Linked DNA regions of Homo sapiens: region 1 is linked to region 2. Evidence: promoter capture Hi-C in human tissues and cell types (Jung and others, 2019). All regions are on one chromosome and are shown on one strand. The core of a region is centred on a gene start or on the middle of the fragment in contact, and the rest is flanking DNA. Distances in the headings are between cores, read along the strand shown.

Evidence for each region. Contacts are between HindIII fragments. The study calls those that stand out against the background at their distance.
Region 1: a contact is called between a fragment that was not itself captured here and the fragment with the promoter of CYP4F3 in region 2, in 4 of the 25 tissues and cell types used here (H1 embryonic stem cells, liver, lymphoblastoid cells and 1 more).

Annotation. Positions count from the first base shown.
Region 1 is chr19:15,995,992-16,000,089 of GRCh38, reverse strand. It overlaps the pseudogene LOC124900424 and the pseudogene CYP4F9P. Among named protein-coding and RNA genes, the nearest start is that of LINC00661, 18 kb to the left of the region's middle. The HindIII fragment of the contact is 3,126 bases long and covers 1-2,888 here.
Region 2 is chr19:15,639,412-15,643,224 of GRCh38, reverse strand. CYP4F3 (cytochrome P450 family 4 subfamily F member 3) reads right to left here and starts at 2,328. Exons shown (of 13, transcript NM_000896.3): 1 at 2,280-2,328; 2 at 1,612-1,810. The coding sequence starts at 1,809. The HindIII fragment of the contact is 9,363 bases long and covers 1-3,813 here.

The sequences.
Region 1 (4,098 bases), core at 76-2,575, 360 kb before region 2:
AGACTTGCGGGCTAGAAACAGGGCCACAGTGGCTATCCACCTAGTAGTACCAAACCTATATACTTTAATGGGACTTATTCCAGCAAGTTGCCACTTGGTTTACGGTCTTAGACTTAAAAGATGCCTTCTTCTGTATCTGACTGGCACCAGTTAGTCAGCCCATTTTTGCATTTCAATAGGACAAGGAAGCTACACAGCTCACCTGGACTAAGCTCCCACAAGGGTTCAAAAACTCTCTTACAATCTTTGAGGAAGCACTGGCCTCAAACCTCAAGGCCTATACCCTGCCAAATGATAACTGTGCCTTGTTTCAGTACGTGGACGACCTTCTTTTGGCAGCCCCAACCCGAGAGGATTATTACCAAGGAACCCAGGACCTCCTCCATCTTTTATGGAAAACAAGTTACAAAGTATCTAAAAAGAAAGCCCAAATTTGCCATGAAAAAGTTAAATATCTAAGTTTCATAGTAAGCCACAGAGAACACCAGCTTGGCTATAAACAGAAGCAGGCCATTTGTGCACTCCCAACCCCAACCACCCGGTGTCAAATACGATAATTTTTAGAGGCAGCAGGATTTTGCCATATTTGGATTCCAAATTTTTCATTAATGGCTAAACCATTATATGAAGCCACAAAGATAGGAGAAAAACAGCCCCTCCTTTCGAAGACTAATCAAGAAATAGCATTTGAACAGATCAAGGAAGCTTTAACTTGGGCCCCAGCTTTAGGACTACCAGACATAACTAAGCCTTTCTTTCTATATGTTCATGAACAAAAAGAAATGGCTATAGGAGTTCTGACTCAAGTTATAGGGTCATAACATTGCCCAGTGGCATACTTATCCAAAGAACTGGACTCCATGCATGGTGCTAGGATGGCCTCCTTTTCTTTTCTTTTTTTTTTTTTTTTGAGACGGAGTCTTGCTGTGTTGCCCAGGCTGGAGTGCAGTAGCGTGATCTCGGCTCACTGCAACCTCCGCCTCCTGGGTTCAAGAGATTCTTGTGTCTCAGCATCCCGAGTAGCTGGGATTACAGGCCCCTGCCTTGCTTGCAGGTCCCCACATGAAGGAGGGCATGAGAGTTCTGACTCAGCTGGTGGCCACTTACCCCCAGGGCTTTAAGATCTGGATGAACCCCATTACTCCCATCATCAGGTTGTGCCACCCCAACATCATCTGGTCTGTCATCAATGCCTCAGGTACCATCTGAAACACCTGGTGGTGAATGCCGTGGTGCATCTGAGGCCTGCAAGCCCCTCCTCCCCCAAGCTTCTGTGTGGCCGCTGCAGTATCCAGGCCCTTCCTTCTTGCTTCACCCTCAGCCATCTTCTCTTTCCTTCATGTATTCACCAACCCCCATCTCAGCGTCTCCTCCCACTACTGCCATCCCCCCACCACCCCGGCGTTCTGTGCACTACTGGAGCCCCATGAGGCCTCAACCCAAGGCTCTGTCCTGGAAGGATCTCCCAAGCTTGAGGAGATGGATCTGGGCAGAGACATCCCCAAAGTCATGGGGTCAGGAGTGGTCCAGAAGGAGATGGGCTGGGAGAGCCCAGAGGAGAACCTGGTCTCTCCTGGGGCAGGCTGGAAGGCTTCCTGGAAGAGAAGTTGCTGGAGCTGGGTTTCTAACAATGAGTAGGAATGTTTTAAAGTGGGGGATGAAGCGATGCAATGGGCAACATTAGAATTCAAGACCTCCTGCCAGGCCTGGCATCACCTTGCATGTCCCCAAGCCCAGAACAATGAGGAGGACATGCAGTTGGTGGAGGATCTGGACTGCTATTTTCATGACATTCACCTCTGTGGGTCGGTTCCTTCTACCCCATCCTGTGGTTCTTCCACTATATGCTCATTGCCCTCCTGCTCCAGGCCCTAGGAATCTCCAGTAGGAGACGCCACCCGAGCCTGGAGCCCTACCCTTGCCCAAACGTGAGGCGCATCCCAAACATGGCCCAGACGTCACCAGCAGAAGAAAAAGACTATCTCAAACAGAATCGCAGACAAACCCCACATACCCCAAATACTCTTGGCCACAGCTGAGCCCTAGACATAACCATCTCCATATGATCCCAGGGATGTGCCTCATGTCTGGAACCCAGGGTCTGTGTGTAAACATTCTGAGACATTGTTTGAGTATTGTTTGAGACAGGCTTCAGGGTATATTTGAGTCATGACTATGGAACATTTGGGACCAGACATGGGCTATTTCTGGGATATTAAAGGGACCATATTTAAATCTGAATCCTAACTGGGGCCTGCCTATAGGGCATGCTAAGGTCATTTCAGAGTGTCTAAGATCCTTGTTAGAGCACAGCATAGCATGCTAGGGCTTGTTGTGTATTTTGTGACCATGTCAGGACATGTTAACACATATCGGGGCCATGTCACATGTTTCTACTATGCTGCGCTTTGAGGGAGTAAGTGTGGTCTCTGGCTTGGAGCCTCACCCCACACCCAAAGTCCCTCCCTCACCCTTTCCATGGTTTCTGATGGTCCTCATTCATGTCAGCCACCATTGCACCAAAAGACGAGGCCTTCTACAAGTTCCTGAAGCCCTGGCTGGGTGAGTACCTGTAGGTGAACAAGGGTGGGAAAAACCTTGGGGGATGGGTAAGAAGAGGGAGATACCCTTGCCCATGGCCCTTGACTGCCTCTACTAGGGGATGGGCTCCTGGTAAATGCCAGTGACAAGTGGAGCTGCCACCGTCAGATGCTGATGCCCGCCTTCCATTTCAACATGCTGAAGCCCTATATGAAGTTTTTCACTGACAGTGTGAATATCATGCACGTGAATTCTTTGAACCCAGAGTTCCAGCTGAAGCCTTGGGGTGGAGGCACCACAGACAGATCTGGTCTGGAATTTTGGCTCTGCTGGGTGGCATTCAGCATTGCTTTTCCTCTCTGAGCTTTGGTTTCCTCAGCTGTAAAATGGGTATAATAATCCCTACTTAAAAGATGGTCAAGGTGATGTAATGGAGTCATATCCCTGGTGCATAGTAGGTGCCCAGAAAGTGTCTGTTTCTATATTTCCTCTTGTAAACTCAAGAGGGTCATGATGACAATTGTATAGTAGCTGTTGCTGAGTAAGAAACAACTTGAGAACTCATTGGTTTAAAACAATAAGGTTTTATGATTGCTAACAAGTCTATGAGACAGGTGGCTGGTATATTAGTCTGTTCTCATGCTGCTGATAAAGACATACCTGAGACTGAGTACTTTAAAAAGGAAAGAGGTTTAATTGACTCACAGTTCCACATGGATGGGGAGGCCTCACTATCATGGTGGAAGGTGAATGAGAAGCAAAGTCATGTCTTACATGGTGGCAGGCAAGAGAGTGTATGCAGGGGAACTCCCCCTTTATAAAACCATCAGATCTTGAGAGGCTTATTCACTATCATGAGAACATCATGGGAAATACTCACCCCCATGATTCAATTATCTTCCACTTGGTCCCTTCCATGACACTTGGGAATTATGGGAGCTACAAATGAATATGAGATTTGGGTGGGGACACAGCCAAACCACATCTTCTATCCCTGCCCCCTCCTAAATCTCATGTCCTCACACTTCAACACCAATCACACCTTCCAAACAGTCCCTCAAAGTCTTAATTCATCTCAGCATTAACTCAAAAGTCCACAGTGTAAAGTTTCATCTGAGATGAGGCAATTCCTTTCCTCCTATGAGCCTGTAGAATCAAAAACAAGTTAGTTACTTCCTAGATACAATGGGGGTACAGACATTTGGTAAATACACCATTCCAAATGGGAGAACTTGTCCAAAACAAAAGGGCTACTAGCCCCATGTAAGTCCAAAATGCAGTAGGGGAGTCATTAAACCTTAAAGTTCCAAAATGAACTCCTTCGACTCCATGTCTCACATTCAGTTCATGCTGATACAAGAGGTGGGCTCCCATGACCTTGGGCAGCTCCACTCCTGTGGCTTTGCAGGGTACAAGCCCCCTTCTAGCTGCTTTCACAAGCTGGTGTTGAGTGTCAGTTGCTTTTCCAGGTGCACAGTGCAAGCTGTCAGTGGATCTACCATTTTGGGATATTGAGTGGCCCTCTTCTCACAGCTCCACTAGGCAGTGCCCCAATAG
Region 2 (3,813 bases), core at 1,079-3,578:
TATCCTATCTGTGCATCCATTCATCCATCTAGCCTATTATCTATCTACCTACCTATCTATCTATTCATTTATCTATCTAATCTATTCATCCTATCTAACTTTTCTATCTATATATCTATCTGCCCATCCATCCATCCATCCATCCATCTTATCTGTACATTCATCCACTCATCCATTTATCCTATTATCTATCAATCATCTAGCTATCTATCCATCCATCTAATCTATCCATCCTACATATCCACTCTACCTATCTATCCACCTAATGTATCCATCTTATCTACTACTTTATGTATGTATTATCCATCCATCCATCCATCCATCCATCCATCCATCCATCTTATCCATGCATCCATCTGTCCATCCATCCATCTATCCTGTTATCTATCTATCTATCTGTCTATCTACCCACCTACTTATCCAGCCAGCCAGCCATCTATTCACCCTATCTGTGCATCCATCCATCCATCTATCCTATTACCTATCTATCTGTCTACATTCCTCCTGCTCTATCTCTCTTGGGGCCACCCCCAAGTCCCAAGAGCGCATCCCAAGGCAGAAGGAAAAGACACACTGTCCACTCACAGAGGCCCACTTAGCTTGAGAGGAAAAATTTCCTTGTTCTGGGAGTCATTTCAGCCCAGAGGTGGGCATATGAGGAGGTCCTCACAGGGGAGGTTTGTGGGGAGCAGTGTGGACTCAGGACATGTCCCTAAGGCTGGTCCCCACATCCCTTCATGCCCTGGCTGGTTCCTCCACCAGCCACACAGGTTCCAGTTCCTCCCATGGAGAAGGTTCTGCACACAGGGGACCTTCCCTTCTCAGCAGTCACTAGGGGAGCAGAGGTGACTCTAACTGTCCATCATGACAGTGGCTCCCACCTGGGAGAAGCTTCTGCACCAGGCTCTGTGCTAGTGCATCCTGTGCACCCTCCCACTTCACCTGTGGACACACCCATCAATCCTGCCATTTGCAATGAGCAGATTGAGACCACGTTCCGCAAAGGGGAGAGCAGGTCTAAGTCAGAGGGCAAGGTCTGGGGGAGGAGAAAGGTCAGGGAAGGCTTCTGAAAGGGGAAGTGAGTGGCCAACTTTTATGTGGGTTTGGCAACAGGACCCCATTGGGACATCTTACTGGGGAGGAACAAGATAAGAGGAAGGTGCCTCCGGATGTGGTGGAGGTGAGAGACAGCCCACACCTCTCCTCTGGCCCACCTATACCCTCATAAGAGGAAATAGGCCAGGTAGGGAGAGGACCCTGAACAGTGGGTACAGGAGGCCTCGAGTCCAGCAATGGAGAATGTGGGAACGCCAGGGGTTCACCTTTCTGTGCACCCAACCCCCTGCCCAAGAGCCCCGCAGAGGTGCATTAATGTGGAAAGACAGGCAGGAAAAGGATTCAACACAGGCCAAGAGTGGGAGAACAGGGAGGTGAGAAGGGCTTGGGTTGGCACCTCACAGAAATGAGTAAGCAGAGGAATGAGTAAGACGCCTCCCCTGCTTCTCTGCCACCCCAGACCCCAGCCCACCCCCTCTCACCTGAGCCTCATTCTTACCCCTCAGGAAGTCCATCCACCCTGAGACCCCAGACCCGTCCTGCTGCCACACTCACCAGGCCCAGGTGACCCAAGAACCAATTCCGTTTCGGGGGTTGCGGGAAACACCGGAGGCGGCAGCAGTTGTCATAGAAGGTATAGGTCCAGGCCAGGATGCGGGCCAGGAGCCAGGAGGCCCCAACCAGCAGCAGGAGCAGCCACGGGGATGCTGCCATTGGCCAAAGGCCCAGCGAGGACAGGCTCAGCTGTGGCATCCTGCAGGGCAGATGGGGTGGTGAGTGAGGTCCTGAGGCCCAGGGAAGGGCCCAGGGAGCTCCAGGGACAGTGGAGAGAGGCAGAGACGGGCAGTGCTGGAGATAGAACAGTAAGAGTAAACAGGGATGGATAAACAGGGGCTGAGGGGTAAAGTCCAGAAAGGCCCAGCCAAAACCAGCAACCAAGTGGCCTCCAGTTACCCGGTAAGCACTTAGATTGAGAAAGACAGAGAAACTGATTAAAGTCCAGAAAGGCCCAGCCTGAATCATTAGGACGTTGCCAGGGGCTTGGTTTCAGTTAGAAAACCACTCATCCTCCAAGCCAGCAACCAGGAGCTGCCTGGGCCTTGGGCAGCAATGGAGAATGTGGGAAGGCTGGGGCTCCCCTATGTGTGCGCCCAATCCCTTGCCCAGTGCCCATCTCCATCACAGGCTAGGATGCCCCAGGCCCACCACCCCCACCCTGGCACCTTCTGTCAGGAGCACCTTGTCCCACACAACCTCCTCTCCCCTTCTTCTGGGAGGTTTTTTCCCCTGGCCCCTGATGTAGGGAAGGCTGTGGGAGGCTAGGCTGGGCTGGGCTGGGCCAGCCAATCCCCACAGCCTGGGTGCCGCTCCCATGTCTGGGCAGCTGGCCAAAACCTGGGTGTGGGAGACCAGCTGGATGCAGAGGAACCAGCTCAGGGTGACACAGCACAGGCACTGGATCCTCAGGTCTCAGCACCTCCCACATAAGGTGGAGAGTAAGCCGAGAGGGGTCAGATAGAGTTTCCACTGTGTGACACCTGCTCTTAAAGAGCACCTACTGAGTGTGTGGCAGATAAAAGCATGAACTTGAGAGTTCAGGTGTCAAGCGAGCCAGGCCAGGCCAAGCCTTGTTCCAGATCATCTCCTGTGCTCCTCTCTAACCCTGGGCCGGTAGGACACCGTGTACCACTTCTGGATGCTGAATCAGGCAACCTGGAAGAGACAAGCCTCTATCCCCCTGCTGCTGGATGGAGTTCAAGTCTTGCCTCCAGGCAGTCCAGGGCCCTGTTGGAGACCTGACTGCTAGGAACGGGAACAAAGAATCCAGCCCCACTGAGGATTACCTGGGTCAGATTCTGGAGATTAAGAGCTCAGCTGGAAAAGCAAATCTGGAGGCCGGACTCAGTATAGGAGGACAGAGCGGGGACGTGGAGGGTTAGGATGAGAGGGAACGGATGGGGTCCAGGCAGGGGAAGGGCAGAGCCAGGGAACCATGAATGGAGTCCTCATTCTGCCTCATCCTTGCTCTGACTTTGGTCAGTACTGCCCCTCCTGGGTGCAGTCTTCCCATCTGGGAAATGGGATGTTCGATGAGGGCCTTAGCGGGGGACAATGAGGGCTCCTAAGAGGAGGGAGCCCCAAAAAGGAGTGAAGGGAAAGGGTGGCAACTAGCACTTGAGCTGCTGTGTGCCAGTCTCTACTCTGCACAAAGGCTGCATGGAAAGTACTTCTACTGTGTGCCAATACTCTAAATGAAGGGCAGCTACTGTGTGCCAGGTGCTAAATCCTGTCTACTCTGTGCCAAGTGCTTTCCATAAAGTGTGCCTACTGTGTGCCAGGTGCTCTACATTAACCCTGTATACTCAGTTCCTGATATTCCTCATAGAGTGCCTACTGTGTGCCACCTGCTCTACATAGTGAGTGCCTATTGAGTGCCACCCCCTGTATATGAAGAGTGCCCACTGAGCACCAGTTGCTGTCTACATAACACATGCCTACTGAGTGCCAAGTGCTCTACATAAACAGTGCCTACTGATACCACCTGCTCTATATGGTGACTTCCTACTGAGTGTTTCCTGATCTACATAAAGAGGGTCTATTGAGTGCTGCCTGCTCGAGTGTTGCCTGTGCTCCATAAAGTGTACCTACTGTGGGCTGCCTTCTGTACATAAAGGGTGCCTACTGAGTGCTGCTTGCTCTACATGAAGAGTTCCTACTCTTGCCTGCGCTACATAAAAAGTGCCTACTCAGTACCAC